Linked DNA regions of Homo sapiens: region 2 is linked to region 1. Evidence: promoter capture Hi-C in human tissues and cell types (Jung and others, 2019). All regions are on one chromosome and are shown on one strand. The core of a region is centred on a gene start or on the middle of the fragment in contact, and the rest is flanking DNA. Distances in the headings are between cores, read along the strand shown. Region 1 holds the start of ZNF804B (zinc finger protein 804B). Region 2 overlaps ZNF804B (zinc finger protein 804B).

Region 1 (5,212 bases), core at 2,178-4,677:
ATGTCTATAGGAAAGTGAAATGTTTTATCCATAATATCCAGATATCAGATATCCATAATATCAGAACTACAAAAGAAGAAATCCTTATTATGTCAAAAAGGGATTGTAGCTTTCTCCTTTCTGTAGCAGAGGTAGAAAGTAGTCTTAACCAATAATTGTTTTATTGAATATTAAGACCATGTTCTACATGCAAACAGTTCTAATAAAACAGAAAAATGTGGAGCAAAAGTAATAGGAGAGACACTTGGATAAAAAGGGCAAAGACCAAAGTTGAAGTATTGGAAATCTTAGTGAAAGTTAGTTAAGTCAACTAAGAATATCTCTATACTAAATAAACTGAGTTTCAGTGAGTGGAAATAATTAAAGTCATTGATGTAAAGGTCAATTTTAGGTCATTCCTGGCACTAAATTTGAAAAAAAAAAAAAGTCAGAGTAGCTATGTTTTTTTAAGGAAATAGATGAATGTATTTTATGGATCTCTGAGTTTAACATTTATACTAAAGGAAAAAAATCAATAAAGTTATGTCAACCTGAAAATAACTGGGGAATGTGTATTGCTGAATTAAAAAAAGATCTATAACCACAGTTTACAGTTTCATATTTTGCAATTAATTAGTAAGGAAGGCAAACACACATTTATCTAGATTAGGAAAGTTTTCAAGTGTGTAAGGGTCTAAGGTCCAGAAGGTAGTGATCCACTTCACCTTAGGGAGAAAGGCTAAGTGTTATGTAATGGGAAGAGGACCTCAACTTGTTGGAAGACTCATCTCAACCACCTGCCAATGATAGAGAATGAATAAACACAAATTTTCATACAGTGCCCAGCTCACATGAGAAACTATTCAAATATTGAAAAAGCCATGCAAATTCCATAATAAAATGTAAAAGAAGACCAAGTAAATCAAATAGTGTTGAGAAAGTACATATATCATTTAATTTAGATATTTTTAAATGATGCATATGTAATTTAAGTACATCCAAATGTGTAAATAAATATTGGAGAGAACCTTCCAGTGAGTCAAAGTGTAGATCCTAGATAACAAAGTAAATTAATTTGTACTTTAGTAAAAACCAGCCCAGCAGTGAATAAAAATAGTGCCCTGAGGGTGGGGAGTACCTGGTGAACCCTGGTCAACCAGCACAGCCATGTGGTCAATGGGCTGTCTTCTCCCATCCACATTCACACATCCAGTCTCTATAGTGTCAGTCAGGCTCTTGGGAGATGACTGACCAAAGTGGGAGAGAAAGGACACTTTTTGACCATGTAACAGAAATTCTTCTGCAAGCCCTACAGATTTGGGAAGATGAACACCATAGTCTAACCAACTTGAATAGAACTAAACCGTGTAAGATTATGAAGCAATTCTCCCTTTATACTGAGAAGTCTTAAGGCACAAACAGTACAATGCCCTACCCAATTTAGTTTTCCATAACCAAAAGGAGGGCAAGGGAGACAGGCACGGAGATTACCAAAGCGTTGAAAAATAATACCTGTGAGAAAGGCAGAACATTGTATGTTTTCTAGATGAAATAGACTTAAAGAAGAATTTAAAGGATTTAAGTTGGCTGTAAGAAAGATTCTCCTGGCACTGTGAGTTGTTAAACATTAAAGTGGTTTGCTGAGACTGCAGGAACTCCAATTCTGAGAATCTTTAGAAATGGGAAAGATTCAGACCTGCTACTTAGAGGGACTGAATGTGGGCTTTATTAAACTAGAACTCTGCAAGTGCCTGCTAACCCTGTGAGTTTAATTGTTAAGTACTTATACAAACAGTATTTTCCATCTAACAGTTCTGACTCAGTACTGTATACAGTTGTTGGGGGGAGCAGTTGCAACAACCCACTTTTTATAGTACATAAAAGCATGTGAAGGAATAGTTTGTCATGAGGAATCCTAGTGATATCTCTGGGCACCTGTACTTTCTGATCTTAGATTTCTCATGTAAATTACATATAGCATTTATTAATAATCAAAGGCTTTTATAATATGTTGCAGTTTTGAATAATTCATGCTAAAGAAGCATTAAACCATGATGGAAAATATCAAACATAAAAAAATTAAAGTTGGGCAATTTCAGTTTTCCCTCTTGATATCATACAGACTTAAATACTGTTTTTTATATGAAACCTCAAAAGTTGGTCTTTAAGTTTGGATACTTAGTCACTAGTAGTCCAAAACTAATATATATATATATTTATTATATATATATTTATTATATATATATTTATTATATATATATATAAATTACACACACATACACATTCACACACATTTTCTTGAAACATATTTGGAGCCTTAAAACATAATAGCATGTACCAAGAAATGAATTAATAATGTATTTAACTCATATAATCTGGATGAAATTATTTTATAAAAAGAATGTGAATAAACTGAATAGTAACTAAATTGAATAGTTTACTAAGTTAAAAAGCAATCACGTTAATTGCATGTTAATATATTTGTATATTATACAATAAATTATCCAACTCAGATTTCCATAAAGAATTCTCTTACTTCCCCTTAAAGAATGTGCATAGTTGAGCATTAGATATAATCAAGTTTTCACTACCTATAACTTTCCTTTTGCCAATGATTTGAGGGAAAATCTTTGAGTTTTTCTCACAAAGTAACAGTAGCATTATTAAACTAATCTCAACTGATGACTTTACAAAAGCACATTATAACGTGCCACTCAAACTTTCTACACTGCTCAAATCAGCAGATTCGTAAGTTGACATAGCACAGAGGAGCTACCTTCTGAGCCCTGCAGTTGACTGCATTCAGTAAGTATTTACATCCGTAGCACTATAGATCCTACTGACTGAATTGAAAATACACATGTAAATACACACCCCTCTCTGTGTCACAGTCTGTCAATAAATTGTATAAACGGACACGATGTATCTCCATACCTATGGATAAGGTATACGTTTTAGATGTCCACCACCTACTCATTGTATCAGGATACTATCTCTCAATATCTTTTTGTTTGTGTTGAGTTGGAACGTTTGTGTATGTATGTGTGTGCGCGCGCACATTACCGGAGAGGGAGATCCGTTCTTGCACAGGGGTCCCCTGAAGACTCCTTTAATGCCCCGGTAGTGCCCATTGCTGAGATGTCTCGAACTGATGACCAGGTAACAAGCCATGTGGGTCCGGGCGGAGGCGCAGAGTCTCAACTCCTCACCAGGCGACCAGCCGTGGAAAGCGGGCGGGTTTCTCAGCGGCAACAGCGACTACCACCTCCCGAGAAGACGCGGCCAGCAGGACGCAGGGGGAGGCGGTGGCAGCGCGTCCCTGCTCCGCGCCCCGTGCGGGGCTCCTGCTGCCGACAGCTGCTGCTCTGACAGAGGCGGCGGCGGCGACAGCACAGAGCACGGAGGGGACCCGGCGAGCCAGTCCACATGCTGCTCTGACGAGGTGGCTGCTCAACCGCGGGCCAGCGATATATTTATTTAAGGACAACTTCCAGGGTCCACCAGGGAATCAGGAATTCCCCCGCCCCTTTCCTCCCGCCCCCTGCCTTCGCGCCTGGCGCCTGCCCGGGGGATGCTCAGGCGCGGGTACCCATCGTCCGGCCGGGGGCGTCCTGGGCTGCTGGCTGCAGTGTGAAGATCCAGCAGCAGCCGCCGCCACCGCCGCTGCTTTGTGGGGAGAGTGGCGGGGAGTCCTTGGGAGCGCCAAAGCGCTGCCCCCGCTGCAGTCGGGAGAGGGCGGAGGAGGAGACGGGCGGGCCGGGGTGAGGACAGGGAGTTGGGGACGCGGCGACCTGTGCTTGAGGAGGGCAGTTAGCGCCTCTGCTGGGAGCTGTGGGCTCGGGGCTGCCCAGGAGGCTCAGGTGTGCTGTGGGGCGAGGCCAGGAGGTGACAGCTGCCGCTGCAGCCGCGGGGGGCTCTCGGGGCTGCAGGACCCGCCTCTCCCACCTCCCGGCCTCAGCCGCCCAGCCCCCCGGTTCTTCTGCCCTATCTCTGAGCCAACTTTCTACTGTTTGGGAGTCACCTGGGAGGACTGGGGAGGCTGTGGTGGAGGAGATGGGCAGGAGGAGGGCGTTTTCTTTACTCTTTCGTTGCCTGCTGGCCTTCAGCTTTTCTTCAGCGCTCTGGCTGACGGCGGCGTTGGCAGAAGCAACAGCTCCCCAGCCGGTTGCAAGAATGAGCTGTGCAGCCACAAATAGGGCAGACAGATTAGATGCGCCGTGGTAGGGAACGCACGGACGAGGAAAGTTTTGGGCAGAAAACTTATATAAGGTATAGAAACGAGACATGCATACGTATATGTGCATATACATGCACGTACCCAGAGTTATGAAGATTCACTTACAAGCCTTTCTGTATCTTAGCGAGGCACATATTTTTGGTCTCTATAAGACCTCTGTGCTTTCAAAACCCCCAATAATCACCCCTCTCAGAAGTGGTTTTTAACGGACCTTATTTCGTTTACCGTAATTTAAGCCACCAGGGAGCGAGCTGCACTGAGAATAAAAAGACCTGGGCAGAAATGTGCTCTGAAAGGAGAAGATAGCCCTCCCAGGGTTTGGAGACACCCTGCACTCTCCTCCACCCCGCGGTTGCTTAATGCGGTTCTGCAATCCATCTCTGCCTCACCTCGCCTTGTCTGTGCCTGGGAGAAGGTAAAGGTTCACCTCCTCTCAGTCTGTTGCTTCAGCGCTGGAATTGAAAGGCTACCGCCAATGCGCTAATTCTCCCCAGTATTGTCCTCTCCTGTCTCCCACAATGCCCCATTCGCATCCCGGTTGACATTGACACAAAAGCAGAAACAGGTTAAAAGGAAAAAAAAACTGTTAATTTAATTTTTCCTATTCAGGCAACTCATAAAATTCTTAAGCAAAAAAGGAACAAAAAAGAATCTAATTATAACTTTTGTAACTACCCAATAAAAGCTTGACTTTTTGTTTACATCATTACAATGGCTTAATATCCTTAATATTTTATTTAAAAAATACATAGATGTACTTCTCATTTTAAAGGTTTTATATAGTCTTTTAAAGTGTTTGCAAAGCTTCTGAGTATATAAGGGAAAAATGCCAATTCCTTGCAAACCTTCAGAATAAAAATTACTGAAACTGGGATAGTGCAATGTAAATCTCAGGAATTGTTTATTTTAAATAAATTGTTGGTAAGAACTTTTGAAATAAAAATAAATTTATAGAGCAGTGGCAGCAGATGCAACAGATCCATCTTCTCCTTTCTA
Region 2 (4,821 bases), core at 575-3,074, 440 kb before region 1:
TTTCTAACTAAAAGAATGTCTAGATTCACACCAATTATTTTGCCTGTTTAATAGTTAAAAGCTTTAAAAATTACATATGACTCCATATGTGTGAGTAGCATTTCCATAAACTATCCCCATTTTAACCTATATGCCTTAAATCATATCATTAGTTGATCAAGCTAGTATTGCAATAAAAATATGTATTTGCAAAGATTTAATAATCTATTTGCAAAGGTTTAATAATCCGTTTGTTTGCTAATCCTATTGTTCATTTAGTGAATATTTTCATGAAAACTTGGACATTCTAAGGTCAGTGTTCTACTCATCAATATTTAATGGCCAGATCTGTATGTGGAAACATACTAATAAGGTGTCATTATTTAAATAACTTTTAGTAATGTCTAAGCATCCAATTTGCTACTCAATTGAAGAATAATTTATTCACATAGAAATGAGGTATTTCTTCAGTATTCAAAACTAAAGTGTACAAAAATGTCAACTATCTTTAACTAAAGATATCTTTAACTCTATATAACGAAACTAAATCTAAATCCACTAACCTGTGCATATACTATTATAACAAGAAAAGGAAAAATCAAGAATCTAAGCGTGCTGTTAAGAGAAAAATATAAATTCTAATGAGTAACCGAGTGACATAGATTGAATCAAGATCTAAGATTCCTGGTTTTCTCATAATTAAAATTTCAAAAGTGCTTCTCTTTTTATTTTCATGTAGCAGTTACAAAAAAGTAGATAATATGAAAACTCTTATAGTATATACAAAATATTATAATCAAACAGCCAATGGAAGAAAAGAGGAAGAAAAATGAAAGGATTTTTATGCAGACTACATTACTTAGTGGAAGACAATTTGCAAAAGGAAGCCATCAACAAAGGCAGAGCTGGTAGTGTCACTTTTATTTTCACATATTTTGCATCTGCTTTTTATTTTCTTCCTGTCAGATTTTTGTGGCAACGCATATTGTCCCTGGAAAAACTTTTAAAACTGCTGCAGTCAGGCACTGAGGCCTTTTTGTTCTGTTCCGTTTTGTTTTGTTTTAGGTGTTAGTAGTTGAAAGATATAAAGATAATTTTTTTTCTTCAGCTTTTATTTTAAGTTCAGGGCTATCTCTGCAGGATGTGCAGGATTGTTACATAGGTAAATGTGTGACACAGTGGTTTGCTGCACAAATCATCCCATCACCTAGGTATTAAGATTGCTGGGTCAAATAGTATTTCTGCCACTAGCTCTTTGAGGAATCACCACAGTCTCCCATAATGGTTGAACTAATTTACACTCCCACCAACAGTGTAAAAGCATTCCTATTTCTCTGCAAACTTGCCAGCATCTGTTGTTTTTTGACTTTTTACTAATAGCCATTCTGATTGGCGTGAGATGCTCTCTCATTGTAGATTTGATCTGCATTTTTATAATGATCAGTGATGTTGAGCTTTTTTTCATATGTTTGTTGATCGTACATATGTCTTATTTTGAGAAGTGTCTATTCATGTCCTTTGCCCATTTTTTAATAGGGTTTTTTTCCTGTTATTTTGTTTAAGTTCCTTGTAGATGCTGGATATTACCCTTTTTTGGATGGATAGATTGCAAAAATGTTCTCCCATTTTGTAGGTTGTCTGTTCACTCTGATGATAGTTTCTTTTGCTATACAGAAGCTCTTTAGTTTAATTAGATCCCATTTGTCAATTTTTGCTTTTGTTGCAATTGCTTTTGGCATCTCTCTCATGAAATCTTTGCCTCTGCCTATGTCAGATGTTATTGCCTAGATTTTCTCCTGGGTTTTTATGGTTTTGGGTTTTACATTTAAGTCTTTAATCCATCTCGAGTTAATTTTTGTATAAGGTGTAAGGAGGGGGTCCAGATACAATTTTCTGCATATGGCTAGCCAGCTTTCCCAGCACCATTTATTAAATAGGAGTCCTTTCCCTATTGCTTATCACTGTCAGGTTTGTCAAAGATCTCATGGTTGTAGGTGTGTGGTCTTATTTCCGAATTCTCTATTCTGTTCCATTGGTCTACGTGTTGTCAAAGATCAGATGGTTTTAAGTGTGTGGCCTTATTTCCAAAGTTTCTATTCTATTTCATTGGCCTATGGGTCTGTTTTAATACTGGTATCATGCTCTTTTGGTTATTGTAGTCTTGAAGTATAGTTTGAAGTCAGGTGGTGTGGTGCCTCCAGCTTTGTTCTTTACACTTAGGATTGTATTGGCTATTCAGGCTCTTTTTTTGGTTCCATATGAATTCTAAGATAGTTTTTTCTAATTCTGTGAAGAATGTCGATGGTAGTTTAATGGGAATAGCTTCAAATCTATAAATTACTTTGGGCAGTATGGCCATTTTCATGATGTTGATTCTTCTTATTCATGAGCATGGAATAATTTTCCATTTGCCTGTGTCCTCTCTGATTTTTTGAGCAGTGGTTTATAGTTCTCTTTCAAGAGGTCCTTCACTTCTCTTGTAAATTATATTTCTAGGTATTTTCTTCTTTTTTTTAAGCAATTGTGAATGGGAGTTCTTTCATGATTTGGCTCTCTGCTTGCCTACTGTAGGTGTATAGAAATGCTAGAAATTTTTGCACATTGATTTTGCATCCTAAGATTTGCTGAAGTTTCTTATCAGCTTAAGAAGCTTTTGGTTTGTAGTTCTCCTTGAAGAGGTCCTTCACATCCCCTGTAAGTTGGATTCCTAGGTATTTTATTCTCTTTGAAGCAATTGTGAATGGGAGTTCACTCATGATTTGGCTCTCTGTTTGTCTGTTATTGGTGTATAAGAATGCTTGTGATTTTTGTACATTGATTTTGTATCCTGAGACTTTGCTGAAGTTGCTTATCAGCTTAAGGAGATTTTGGGCTGAGACAATGGGGTTTTCTAGATATACAATCATGTCATCTGCAAACAGGGACAATTTGACTTCCTCTTTTCCTAATTGAATACCCTTTATTTCCTTCTCCTGCCTAATTGCCCTGGCCAGAACTTCCAACACTATGTTGAATAGGAATGGTGAGAGAGGGCATCCCTGTCTTGTGCCAGTTTTCAAAGGGAATGCTTCCAGTTTTTGCCCATTCAGTATGATATTGGCTGTGGGTTTGTCATAGATAGCTCTTATTATTTTGAGATATGTCCCATCAATACCTAATTTATTGAGAGTTTTTAGCATGAAGGTTGTTGAATTTTGTCAAAGGCCTTTTCTGCATCTATTGAGATAATCATGTGGTTTTTGTCTTTGGTTCTGTTTATATGCTGGATTACATTTATTGATTTGCATATATTGAACCAGCCTTGCATCCCAGGGATGAAGCCCACTTGATCATGGTGGAAATAAAAGAGGATACAAACAAATGGAAGAACATTCCATGCTCATGGGTAGGAAGAATCAATATCATGAAAATGGCCATACTGCCCAAGGTAATTTATAGATTCAATGCCATCCCCATCAAGCAACCAATGACTTTCTTCACAGAATTGGAAAAAACTACTTTAAAGTTCATATGGAAGCAAAAAAGAGCCCGCATCGCCAAGTCAATCCTAAGCCAAAAGAACAAAGCTGGAGGCATCACACTACCTGACTTCAAACTATACTACAAGGCTACAGTAACCAAAACAGCATGGTACTGGTACCAAAACAGAGATATAGATCAATGGAACAGGACAGAGCCCTCAGAAATAACACCGCATATCTACAACTATCTGATCTTTGACAAACCTGAGAAAAACAAGCAATGGGGAAAGGATTCCTTATTTAATAAATGATGCTGGGAAAACTGGCTAGCCATATATAGAAAGCTGAAACTGGATCCCTTCCTTACACCTTATACAAAAATTAATTCAAGATGGATTAAAGACTTAAATGTTAGATCTAAAATCATAAAAACCCTAGAAGAAAACCTAGGCATTACCATTCAGGACATAGGCATGGGCAAGGACTTCATGTCTAAAACACCAAAAGCAATGGCAACAAAAGCCAAAATTGACAAATGGGATCTAATTAAACTAAAGAGCTTCTGCACAGCAAAAGAAATACCATCAGAGTGAACAGGCAACCTACAAAATGGGAGAAAATTTTCGCAACCTACTTATCCGACAAAGGGCTAATATCCAGAATCTACAATGAACTCAAACAAATTTACAAGAAAAAAACAAACAACCCCATCAAAAAGTGGGCAAAGGACAAGAACAGACACTTCTGAAAAGAAGACATTTATGCAGCCAAAAAACATATGAAAAAATGCTCACCATCACTGGCCATCAGAGAAATGCAAATCAAAACCACAATGAGATACCATCTCACACTAGTTAGAATGGCAATCATTAAAAAGTCAGGAAACAACAGGTGCTGGAGAGGATGTGGAGAAAAAGGAACTCTTTTACACTGTTGGTGGGACTGTAAACTAGTTCAACCATTGTGGAAGTCAGTGTGGCGATTCCTCAGGGATCTAGAACTAGAAATACCATTTGACCCAGCCATCCCGTTACTGGGCATATACCCAAAGGACTATAAATCATGCTGCTATAAAGACACATGCACACGTATGTTTATTGTGGCACTATTCACAATAGCAAAGACTTGGAATCAACCCAAATGTCCAACAGTGATAGACTGGATTAAGAAAACGTGGCACATATACACCATGGAATACTATGCAGCCATAAAAAATGATGAGTTCATGTCCTTTGTAGGAACATGGATGAAGCTGGAAACCATCATTCTCAGCAAACTATCACAAGGACAAAAAACCAAACACAACATGTTATCACTCATAGGTGGGAATTGAACAATGAGAACAAATGGACACATGAAGGGGAACATCACACTCTGGGGA

Evidence for each region. Contacts are between HindIII fragments. The study calls those that stand out against the background at their distance.
Region 2: a fragment that was not itself captured here is called in contact with the fragment with the promoter of ZNF804B in region 1 in 2 of the 25 tissues and cell types used here (H1 embryonic stem cells and dorsolateral prefrontal cortex).

Annotation. Positions count from the first base shown.
Region 1 is chr7:88,757,915-88,763,126 of GRCh38, reverse strand. It overlaps ZNF804B (zinc finger protein 804B), which reads right to left and starts at 3,427. Exons shown (of 4, transcript NM_181646.5): 1 at 3,043-3,427. The coding sequence starts at 3,150. RefSeq lists an enhancer at 2,737-3,281. The HindIII fragment of the contact is 17,200 bases long and covers 1-5,212 here.
Region 2 is chr7:89,193,482-89,198,302 of GRCh38, reverse strand. All of the region lies in intron 1 of ZNF804B (zinc finger protein 804B), which reads right to left. Among named protein-coding and RNA genes, the nearest start is that of TEX47, 400 kb to the right of the region's middle. The HindIII fragment of the contact is 4,016 bases long and covers 1-3,832 here.